Linked DNA regions of Homo sapiens: region 1 is linked to region 2. Evidence: promoter capture Hi-C in 16 types of primary human blood cells and fetal thymus (Javierre and others, 2016). All regions are on one chromosome and are shown on one strand. Each heading gives the region's core, a stretch centred on a gene start or on the middle of the fragment in contact. The rest is flanking DNA. Distances are from core to core; before and after follow the strand shown. Region 1 holds the start of CEP19 (centrosomal protein 19). Region 2 overlaps TFRC (transferrin receptor).

Region 1 (5,630 bases), core at 520-3,019, 630 kb before region 2:
GCTAATTTACAAATAGTACAGCAAATACTAGAATGTCATGATTTTAAAGGCAAAAGTACCATTTTTAAAACGAATTTGTTGAATGTGAATTTACCTTCAACATTTTTCCTCTTAACTATTACTTTGGTAGTGGTGAACTGGCTCTGGAAATTGACTTCTTTTTCCTTTTTTTTTTTTTTTTTGAGACAGAGTCTCCCTCTGTCACCCAGGCTGGAGTGCAATGGCGCGATCTCGGCTCACTGCAACCTCCGCCTCCCTAGTTCAAGCGATTCTCCTGCCTTAGCCCCCTGAGTAGCTGGGACTACAGGGGCACGCCATCACGCCCCGCTAATTTTGACCCCTTTTCAATTATAAAATGCTAACGTTGGAAGCCTCTACAGATTACCAAATCCAACTGTTTAAAAATTCTTCTGGCCGAGCATGGTAGTTCACACCTGTAATCCTGGCACTTTGGGAGGCTGAGGAGGGTGGACCACCTGAGGTCAGGAGTTCAAGACCAGCTTGACCAATACGGCGAAACCCCGTCTCTACTAAAAATACAAAAAATTAGCTGGGCATGGTGGCGGGCACCTGTAATAATCCCAGCTACTTGGGAGGCTGAAGCAGAAGAATTGCTTGAACTTGGGAAAGGCGGAGGTTGCAGTGAGCCGAGATCGCGCCATTGCACTCCAGCCTGGCAACAGAGTGAGACTCCATCTCAAAAAAAAAATCTTCTTGGCCTCATAATCCTTTGTTTAGATAAACTTGAAAACCCAATATGTAAACACACAAGCAGAACTGCACTGATTGACAGATACTAAACGGATCTAAATGATACCAAGGATGACAGAAACATCCTCATTTTACAGATGGAGAAACTTGTAGGGTTTGTGCTTTCCTCCCATCAAACCTTACCCTTTATTGTAATTATTCCCGCACTTGCCCGTCTCAGTAGTACAAGCAGTTTGCCAACTACTACTTGCACGAACAACTAGCAGTTTGCCACGGAGTCCTACATTCAGTTTGGGGATTCTCAGGCCTCACAGGGCGCTAAGGCCTTGCCTGGCCCCTTGGTGATCAGAAGCTTCGTGCAGCTCAAGAGCATCCCAAGACGCTTGACGGCTGACTTTCCTTCTCAGAACTTTAGTAACAGGGCGGCCAGTCCAGCCTGGGAACCGCAGGGCCCGAGCCCGACTCTCCCGGAGACCCGGGATCCGCCGCAGAGCAAAGCGCACGGGAGGGAAGGAGGGCACACGGCTCTAGTGTCTGACCTCCTCCGGCTCGCCCTACTGATCTAGGTCCCGCGCCGGGTCCCCACATCCCCGCAACCCGCCGAGAGGCCCGGGAGCCGGGACCGCTCCCACGCTCTGGCCCCCCAAGCCCCGCCCCCCTTACCGGCGTCAGAGCGCGCGGCGGTGAAGGCCGCGGCGGGCCCGCGCGTGAGCCCGGTCGCCGCCCCGAGGAGCAGCCAGGCGGCCGCCCGAACCGCCGCCACCCGAGCCGCCAGGACGCCGGAAGCCGGACGCCCGAGAGGGGCGCGCGGGGCCAGGTGCGGACGCAGGAAGGGGCCTGGCCGCCCGCAGCTCCTACCGCGCGCTGCCCCAGATTTATCGGCTGGGACCGAGTGCTGGGTGCGCGCGCCTAGCGCCCGCGGTTCCCAGCTGCCTGCAGCCCCGGCCCCCAAGGGTTCCCGCGCGGCGTGGGGCGGTCGTCCCCGCCCAGCTGTTCCTTGCTCCGCCCACCCGGGGGCGGGCGAGGAGCTGCGCACGCGCGGGGACGCGCGCCCGGCCTGTCGCTGTGGAAACCGCTAGGCCAGCGCTCGCCGGGACCTGGAATCCCTGTACGCCGAGGTGGGAGCCGGTGGACCGGTCCCCCAGCCGGCCCCCACCTCCGCTTCCCGGTGTTTGAGGGTTCGGGCCTCCCGCCGGGGAGTTCACCCCTCGGGCTCGTCAGTAGGGCTGTGGCTGTCGCCTCTTCCTGCAGCGCCAGGCTCCGCCCGGTCTCACAGTCGGCTTAGGGGCTTTGCGTGCACTGCGGTTGGGTGGAAAAACCCACTCCTGGTTGTTTAGACGTTGGCCTGCAGACGATGTCATTTCTGTATTCCTCTAAGGGTAAGAAAGCCAGCCTTGCACTAGTGGAGACGTGAGTAGGGAGAGAATCGTCTACTCTTTGGGGACATTCGTACCCTTAGGTGCTGTGGGGCTTCCTAACAAGATTGTGGGCAGTTACTGATCTCTGGGGAGAGGAGTATTCGTGTCCAGGAAGAATAATTGGATAAACGTGCCGTCCTTCTTCCTAAACAGAGTGGAATCTGTAAGCAGGCCAAGAGAGCATCCAGGCGGCTTGGAGTGGAATAGAGGGCTCTAGAGCGGGTGTCTCAAAGAGGAAACAGAGTGTATGTCAAAACATACTATCCAAAACTGAAAATAGCCGGGCAGGTGGCTCACGCCTATAGCCCCAGCACTTTGGGCGAATCACCTGAGGTCAGGAGTTCGAGACCAGCCTGGCCAAGATGGCGAAACCCCGTCTCTACTGAAAATACAAAGATTAGCTGGGCATGGTGGTAGGCACCTGTAATTCCAGCTACTCGGGAGGCTGAGGCACGAGAATCGCTTGAACCCAGGAGGCGGAGGTTGCAGCGAGGGGAGATCACGCCACTGCACTGCAGCCTAGGCGACAGAGGGAGACTCTGTTTCAAAAGAAAAAAAAAAACTGAAAATGGTAGTATAAGCATGTTTCTTAAGAAATGGAGAGAGAAATTTTGGAAGATATGCCTTTTAAAATTCAGTCTGGCTCCCTATGAAGAGGAGTAGGGCCAAGGACGATAGTTTGTTGTTATAAGCCTCATAGAATTATTTTATATTCCAAATACAAACATTACTTTAGCAAAAATTAAAGTTAAATTTTAAAAAGAGTCTAGTAAAAAAAAAACTACATTATTTGAGTACCAACTGCATACATCTTTGACGAGTACAGCCATTGCTTCAGTGTGTGGAGTTTATATGTGCCCCGTAGGTTGTAGTTTACTAACATCAAATTTTAGTTAGGTGAATTGGGAATAGTATTCGTTAAAAAAAAAAAAAAAGCAAGAAAAGAGAAGGAAAAGAAGGAGAAATGGTGTGAGCTCATTGCATCAGATTAGAGGTAGAGCACAGTAATTTTTTAAAGTAGTTTTTTTTTTTTTTTTTTTTTTTTTTAAGAATAGGCGTATCATGCTTTGGAGAGGCTGTTGTGCAGTGGCACCATCTCAACTCACTGCAGCCCCAAACTCCTGGGTTCAGGCGATTCTCCCACCTTGGCCTTTGGTGTGGCTGGGACTACAGGTGCATGCTGCCATGCCTGGCCAATTTTTAAATTTTTTGTAGAGACATGCATGGTCTCGCTGTGTTGCCCAGGCTGGTCTCAAACTCCTGGCCTCAAGGTATCTCCTCTCCTTGGCCTCCCAAAGTGTTGGGATTACAGGCCTGAGCCACCACACCTGCCTCCATCTTTTTGAGATGGAGTCTTGCTCTTGTCACCCATGCTGGAGTGCAGTGGTACCATCTCAGCTCACTGCAACCTCCGCCTCCCAGGTTCAAGTGATTCTCCTGCCTTGGCCTCTCGAGTAGCTGGGATTACAGGCACCTGCCACTATGTCCAGCTAATTTTTGTATTTTTAGTACAGACGTGGTTTTCACCATGTTGGCCAGGCTGGTCTCGAACTCCTGACCTCAAATGATCTGCCCACCTTGACCTCCCAAAGTGCTGGCTGGGGTGAGCCACTGTGCCTGGGCTTATATGTGATTAATTTTCTAAGAGTAAAAATTCTCATGCCCAACAATAAGTGGTGAATAATATGATTATAGTACATCCATAAAATAAAACATTTAGCAGTCATATAAAATGTTACATTGTAGTAAAACATTTGATGACAAAATAATAATATATGTTGTTAAATTTGAACGTCAGGAAATAGCTTGTATGATAAGGTATGTATGAAACATACTATAAACTATATGCCTAGAAAAAAGACTGGACACAATCAAGGGTGATTATTTTCTATAGGTTTCCCCTCTCCTTTGCCCCCAGTATTCTACAATGACGTGTATAATCACTGCTAAGTATTTAATAAAAAGTATGTTCCTAATAGTGATTCTCCAGCAGAACTGAGTTCACGAAGATATCATCACCCTATGCCACTTTACCTCAATGTTTCTTGACATTTACAAATCTTTCTGGGAATGTCACAGTCACATCAAAAGCAGTGCTTAGGGTTAAGTGTATTCTTTGGGCACTGAGGGTGGGGAAAGGAAGAGAGAATAGTAAGTATTCATCTACAAATAGCTGTTTCTTGTAGCTAGAAAATTATCATATAGTGAGACACACAGGCCAAAATAAAAGCCCTGCAGACATTACTGACTATTGTATATGAAGAAGCTGAGATATGTGATGTATATGATGTAGCTGCAGACGTTACTGACGTGTATATGAAGAAGCTGATTCTGCAGCAGGTCTGCTTTTTGATCAGGCTTCTAGACTGTAAATGCTTTCAAAAATGTACAGGGACCATCATGTTAATTCATAGCATTAAACAATGTATGGAATGCCCACTACGTTCCAGGTATTATGCTGAGATATTGTGGTGGAAAATGAATATGCCCCCCACCCTCATGGAGCATATTGACTAGAAGGGAAGATAGATGATTAAATAAATAATGACAAAAAACTCTAGTAAAATAATTGGGAAAGTACAAAGGAGACAGTTCTGGATTGGTGAACCTCTCAGGACAAAATGATTAAGGTTAAAAAACTTACCTTATCATAGTACCTTGATACCGAGGATGCTCGATATGCCCTTTCTTAATTGATAAATAGTAAAGACCCTATAGGTCAGCTATTGGGCTGACTTAGGGGTTCATATTCGATCTTCAGTAAGAGTGCAGTACACTAAGAGGTTCAAACTGGATTGCATCCCCAGATTCACATATGAACAAGTCTATATCCTTGAAAAAACCAGATCTTAGGGATCCAACAGGTTGAAACTAACCCAGGGCCAAGCTGAACTTTCAGGGCAGTTCTCAAAATAACTGAGCTTTGTGGTCGTTCCCGCGCACATACCCCACAATTGGAATGATACAGAGAGGATCAGCATGGCCCCTGCGCAAGGATGACACACAAATTCATGAAGCAGTCCGTATTTTAATTTTAAAAAAAATGAGTTTCACAGGCTGAGCGTGTGTGGCCAGAGCCGGACTAGAACCAGATCTTCTGGGGCAAAGGGGCGAGGGGAATGAATGACATTTATCCAACACCTAGTTGTTTTTTCCCTTTAGCAGGAAGTCATTATGCAACTTACACATATTCATCAGATTTCCTCTGACTTACCCGGACATGTACATGGGAATGATGTGCACTGCCAAGAAATGTGGGATTAGGTTTCAGCCTCCAGCTATTATCTTAATCTATGAGAGTGAAATCAAGGGGAAAATTCGCCAGCGCATTATGCCAGTTCGAAACTTTTCAAAGTTTTCAGGTACCTCATGTCTTATCTTGCCTCCTGTCTTAAATATTCTCTAAATACAGGTTCACATCATGACTCTGTCAGGGACTGGATGTGTGACACTGGATGAATTACTTACTCTCAGTGAGCTTCAGTTTCCTAATCTATAAAA
Region 2 (6,372 bases), core at 434-2,933:
GGTGTACCCCCACTGTCGCTCTCAGCCCCGGGGACTTCGGGTCCTCGCCCTTGAAGGCCGCAGGCCCTAGTGCGCCGGCTCCGGGCTGCGGGTCCGGGAGCGCGGGCGCAGCCAAGGTGCAGCTGCGCGGCGTGCGGCGCCGGGGGAACACGTGGCTGCTCCAGGAAGTCGCCCCAGGGAACGGCTGGGATTCGTGGGTGACCTTGGGCTCCTAAACCTTCGGTTCCCCGGGCTCCGGGCGGGCCCCGTTCTCACTGCGGAAAGGGACAAAGCTGTCCCCGATTCGGTTACTAGCGTGTTACAGGCATTAATTAGATACGGGTTTCTGTAAACTTACCCTTCGGCTCTGGTACAACCTGATCTTGCCATGCTCTGCCTGTTCGCCTTGTGTGTGGATTCTGTTTTCTCAAGGCAGAATCCGACTGAACGCCGCAGGTGTTCACATTAAGAATATTGCTAGCAGTTCTCACTACAAGACGGGAGCCATAGGAGTGACTTATTTGTGAAAGATACTTGGAGATTAGCGGTGTGGTCAGAGGGCTGTGCTGGATTGATGGGCGCCGGAGAGGCCGATTGTGTCACATTCTGCTGGACAGTTCTTTTAAGGTTGGGAGGGTGGGTAAGAAAATACATTCTGATTCGGCTCTTTTCGGATAACGCTTTCCCTCTGCTTACTGCTTGTAGAGACCTCACTTACCCGGGGGACTGGATTCTGCAGCTTTTTCCATTTTCTTCCCCGTTGATAAGAGGATTAAAGTAGGAAATTGTATTTGGCTACCCCATGCTTATATGCTAAGCTTACTGTGAAAATTAAGGTTAGGCTGTCTAGAGTACTTGTGGACCCTGCTGGTTCCCCCCGCCCCCCGGCCCTGAATTTTGGGTTACAATATGCTTCTCAAGAAAACTCAGAGTTAAGATAATTTTTGTCATCGATTTTGCAAGGTTATATATAGCATAGCATCCTTCAATTTCCTTTGGATGTTCTTATCAAGTAATGGTGGCTGTAAACCTAGCCTGTGTTGAAGATTGTTAGATAGACAGCAGTTTGGCTAACTCCGCCCTAAGGCGAGGCAGTTACTTGCCTCTGATAATGTATTTAAATGTCATGGAGCAAGATTCCCAGCTAAACCTGAATCGATCACAATGCTAGTTAAAAATGACCCTCGGCTGGGCGCATTGGCTCCCGCCTGTAATCCCAGCACTTTGGGAGGCCAAGGCAGGCGGATCACCTAAGGTCAGGAGTTCGAGTCCAGTCTGACTAACATGGTGAAATCCTGTCTCTACTAAAAACACAAAAATTAGCCGGGCATGGTGGCTCACGTCTGTAATTCCAGCACTTTGGGAGGCCGAGGCAGGTGGATCACTTGTGGTGAGGAGTTCGAGACTAGCCTGGCCAACATGGTGAAACCCCGTCTCTACGAAAAATACAAAAATTAGCTGGGCATGGTGGTGCACACCTGTAATCCCAGCCACTCAGGAGGCTGAGGCTCGAGAGTCGCTTTAACCTGGGAGGCAGAGGTTGTAGTGAGCTGAGATCGTGCTACTGCACTCCAGCCTGCGCGACAGCGAGATGCCATCTCAAAAACAACAACAAAAAAACTCCCTACTAAACCAGAAGAGTGATGGGGACGGGAAAAGATTCCTGGTCCAATGTTTTCATTATATTTTTCATATCATTTGGAATCTCATGCATCAGGCATGCCCCAGTACTGTTAAAGACAATATTTTTACTCATTATCAGGTAGTTCAATACCAGTTATTACAGGATAGGGAAGTCAGTCAGAGAAGGCTTCATAGAGATGAAGCCTTGAGCTGAGCCTGGAAGAAATGAGGAGGACCTCAAGGAACAGAGAAGAATGTTGGTGGGTAAAAACAGGGGCTGGATTCTGTCTGATTTTGGAGAAAATAGAGGGTAGTGAAGTTGTTAGGCAGTGAATGTGTTCCATTTCATGGTTCAAAACGTGGGGCTACGTTTTGCCTACCTGAGCTTCATTATTAATGTGAGAAATTGAATTGTTGTTTTCAGTCACCATTGAGAACACCAAAGATAACACAAGTAGCTTAGATTATTATTTATTTATTTATTTTTGACAGAGTTTCACGCTTGTTGCCCAGGCTGTAGTGCAATGGTGTGATCTCGGCTCCCTGCAACCTCCACCTCCCCCAGGTTCAAGTGATTCTCCTGCCTCAGCCTCCCCAGTAGCTGGGATTACAGGCATGCGCCACCATGCCCGGCTAATTTTGTATTTTTTTGGTAGAGATGGGATTTCTCCATGTTTGGTCAGGCTAGTCTCAAACTCTCAACCTCAGGTGATCTGCTCGCCTCGGCCTCCCAAAGTGTTGCTGGGATTACAGGCGTGAGCCACCATGCCCGGCCATCGCTTTGTGTTCTTAAAATTAATTTAAAACAAGAAAACTTGAGGAATGATGGTTCAGATGAGTGTTAAAACTTGCAAGATGTTTTTTCCTAGAAAAGGATGATTAAAATTGGTTCAGGGTGGGGCCTTCCAGTTCTGGCTCTAATGATTGGGTCCTTACTGTTCTGGTGGAGTGGTAGTGATAAGCTTTTTGTAACAGAAGGGGCAAAAGATTGTGCTTCTGGCTGGGCGCAGTGGCTCACGCCTTCGATTTCCTTGGGATGTTCTTATCAAGTAACTAATCTTAGCACTTTGGGAGGCCAGGTGGGTGGATCACCCTAGGTCAGAAGTTCCAGACCAGCCTGGCCAACGTGGTAAAATCCCGTCTCTACTAAAAATACAAAAATTAGCTGGGCATGGTGGTGGGCACCTGTAATCCCAGCTACTCGGAGTCTGAGGTGGGAAAATGGCTTGAACCCGGGAGGGGGAGGTTGCAGTGAGCCGAGATCCTGCCATTGCACTCCAGCCTAGGCAACAAGACCGAAACTCTGTCTCAAGAAAAAAAAAAAGATTATGCTTCTAAGAATATGGTCTATTGCATATGGACACTGGTTTTTAAAGCTTGAATTTAAAAAGAATTTTTTGTAATAGGTTTTAGAGCTTTTTCTTTTTCTTTTTTATTATTTTTTTGAGATGGAGTTTCACTCCGTCACCCAGGCTGGAGTGCAGTGGTGCCATCTCGGCTCACTGCAACCTCCACCTCCCGGGTTCAAGCGATTCTCCTGCCTCAGCCTCCCCAGTAGCTGGGATTACAGGTGCCCACCACCACGCCCATCTAATTTTTGTATTTTTAGTAGAGATGGGGTTTCACCACCTTGGCCAGGCTGGTCTCAAACTCCTGACCTCGTGATCCACCTGCCTCGGCCTCCCAAAGTGTTGGGATTACAGGCATGAGCCACCGTGCCTGGCCAGAAAGCTTTTTCTTAATGCCAGTTATAATACCCTTTGCTTTACAATTTGCGTATACCTCACAGCTTGCTTTGTGCCGTGTGTGTTTAATATGCCCTAAGTGTACTCGTATATAGGAAAAGCTTTAAAATGGTATCCAATAAATGTCCATTTTGCAAATCTCAGGATAATGTCATTTTCAAGTATCTAGATGCCCTCAAACCAAATTAACTGGAAAATTCAGATTTCAGTTAAGGCCTTTAACTTAACTTAGGACTTTGATTACAGAGATGTATTTTGCTTTGACAAAAGTTAAGGTTAATGTCTTAAATTTCCAGAGATGATAACACAATTTCTATAACCCAGTAACCCATTTAACTTCGCTTAGATTATCAATTTTCAGCCTTGAACAGGCCACTTAGTTTCTCTAATAACTGGCCTCTTCATCTGTAAAACAGCGTAATCTGTGTTTCATGTTTCTTCTTGTGTCAAAGATCGAATCACTTGTAGGAACTATTCATTCAGTCAGGATCAGTATTTCTTCCCCTTCCCATTGGAGATGGTTTGTGGTATTTGTAGCATAACTGGTCTTGTCTGCCTTAGTCTTAATTTTGTCTTTTTGTATGTGTCACTTTCTTTTTTTTTTGAGACAGAGTTTTGCTCTTGTTTTCCAGGCTGGAGTGCAGTGGCGCGATCTTGGCTCACTGCAAGCTCCACCTCCTGGGTTCACGCCATTCTCCTGCCTCAGGCTCCCGAGTGGCTGGGATTACAGGCGCCCACCACCACGTCCGGCTAATTTTTGTATTTTTAGTAGAGACAGGGTTTCTCCATGTTGGCCAGGCTGGTCTTGAACTCCTGACCTCAGGTGATCCACCCATCTCAGCCTCCCAAAGTGCTAGGATTACAGGTGTGAGCCACCCCGCCCAGCAGTATGTGTCACTTTTGTCTACTCAGAACATAGTGGTTCGTACTTATAATTGCAGCACTTTGGGAGGCCAAGGTGGGAGGATTGTTTGAGGCCAGGAGTTCAAGACCAGCCTGGGCAACATAGGGTGACCTTGTCTCTACAAAAAGAAAAAAAAAGAATTATGTATATAACAAACTTTAAAAAGGATCCCACTTAATTTAGTTGTCATGTAAACTATGGTTAAATACCTTTTCTAGAAAAGTGATAATGTATTTTAAAAATTTAATGTATCATTTAGCCTGGTAATAGAAAGCTCACTAATCTGATACAGTAGTATCTTTCTCAATAATTCTCTATTCTGATACCTAGGTTCTTCTGTGTGGCAGTTCAGAATGATGGATCAAGCTAGATCAGCATTCTCTAACTTGGTAAGATATTTTCAGTTGTATTTCTGTGTCTGCAAGAATGTGAAATATACAAGCATGACTTTAACTGAGTAAGCATGAAATAATAACCCCAATCTATTATCAGGTATTCATTTACATTTGAATTGGTAGTCTTGAGGCATAACTGATCTCACAAAGAGTTCAGCCTTCAGTAGGGTTAATTATGGAAAGTCTTGGAAGAATTCTCAGAGTGGTTCTGGGTGTGGTAGACGGGGACAGCTTAGTAGATAAGACGAATTAAAGCCCTGATCAAAATGTTTTAGTAGGAGAAGTAAAAAGCAAAGGCTTGCGGGGCGCTGTGGCTCACGCCTGTAATCCCAGCACTTTGGGAGGCTGAGGTGGGTGGATCACCTGTGGTCAGGAGTTCAAGACCAGCCTGACCAACATGGTGAAACTCGGTCTCTACTAAAAATACAAAAAAAAAAAAAATTAGCTGAGTGTCATGGCGCATGCCTGTAGTCCCAGCTACTTGGGAGGCTGAGGCAGGAGAATTGCTTGAACCCGGGAGGCGGAGGTTGCAATGAGCTGAGATCACGCCATTGCACTCCAGCCTGGGCAACAGAGTGAGACTCCGTCTCAAAAAAAAAAAAAAAAGCAAAGGCTGAATGAGGCCAAGTGTGGTGGCTCACTCCCGCAATCCCAGCAGTTTGGGAGGTGAGGCAGGAGGATCACTTGAGGAGTTTGAGACTTGCCTGGGCAACATAGCAAGCCCATCTCTATTAAAAAAAAAATGAAATTTTAAGAAACATTGAGTAGACAGTATGAGTGAAAGCTGAAAGAACATACAAAAAAAACAGCCATCCAGGCCATGACGAGAAGGAGCCTAACTCTTAACACTCTGTCTAGACCTCAATTCTCTCTTATTTGTATTTATTTATTTATTTATTTTTATTTTATTTTTTGAGATGGAGTCTCAGCCTGGGCTCTGTTGCCCAGGTTGGAATGCAGTGTGCAATCTTAGCTCACTGTAACCTCCGCCTCCTGAGTTCAAGCGATTCTCCTGCCTCAGCCTCCTGGGTGGCTGAGATTACAGGCGTGCGACACCATGCCCAGCTAGTGGTTTTTTTTTTTTTGAATTTTTAGTGAGAGGGGATTTCACCATGTTGGTCAGGCTTGTCTCAAACTTCTGACCATAAATGATCTGTGTGCCTCGGCCCCCCCCAGAGTGCTGGGATTACAGGCATGAGCCACTGTGTCTGGTCTATTCTCTCTTTTCTGTCTTCTATCTTATGCTTAGTCAGAATTTCTGCTTATTTATAACTTTGTTTTATTCTTGCTCCCTTGCTCCCACCAACATCATGGTCTGGGTTACTGCATAGTATCCTGAACTGATTTGTGCCCCTAGTCCCAGCTACTCAGGAGGCTGAGGTGGGGGAATCAGTAGAGCCCAGGATTTTGAGGCTGCAGTGAGCTGTGATCACACCACTGTACTCCATCCTGGGAGAGAGAGGGAGACCTTGTCTCAAAAAAAAAAAAAAATTTACAAAAAGGGAGAGACTGACTGAGAAGACCAGTGTGAACTAGCCCTTGACTGGGCCCAGGGAAGAATGTTGGTTTGAAAGGAGAACACCCTAAGGAATATATAGCAAGTTATAGTAATGGCCCAATAACAAGCATATACCTAAACGAGCTTTTCCTAAACATTCCCGTGCCTGTTCTTCATCATGCCTTTTTCCGCAACACAGTTTGGTGGAGAACCATTGTCATATACCCG

What was found. Contacts are between HindIII fragments. The CHiCAGO score rates a contact against its expected background, and 5 or more counts as called.
Region 1: a contact is called between the fragment with the promoter of CEP19 here and a fragment that was not itself captured in region 2, in 1 of 17 cell types (fetal thymus). The highest score is 5.2, in fetal thymus.

What each region holds. Positions count from the first base shown.
Region 1 is chr3:196,708,389-196,714,018 of GRCh38, reverse strand. It overlaps CEP19 (centrosomal protein 19), which reads left to right and starts at 1,769. Exons shown (of 3, transcript NM_032898.5): 1 at 1,769-2,090; 2 at 5,292-5,491. The coding sequence starts at 5,362. It overlaps PIGX (phosphatidylinositol glycan anchor biosynthesis class X), which reads right to left and starts at 1,642. Exons shown (of 6, transcript NM_017861.4): 1 at 1,375-1,642. The coding sequence starts at 1,486. It also overlaps the pseudogene RNU6-646P. RefSeq lists silencers at 1,243-1,872, 1,707-2,019. The HindIII fragment of the contact is 5,927 bases long and covers 1,066-5,630 here.
Region 2 is chr3:196,075,332-196,081,703 of GRCh38, reverse strand. It overlaps TFRC (transferrin receptor), which reads left to right. Exons shown (of 19, transcript NM_001128148.3): 2 at 4,582-4,640; 3 at 6,344-6,372. The coding sequence starts at 4,605. Among named protein-coding and RNA genes, the nearest start is that of TFRC, 3.6 kb to the left of the region's middle. RefSeq lists an enhancer at 863-1,362. The HindIII fragment of the contact is 1,767 bases long and covers 800-2,566 here.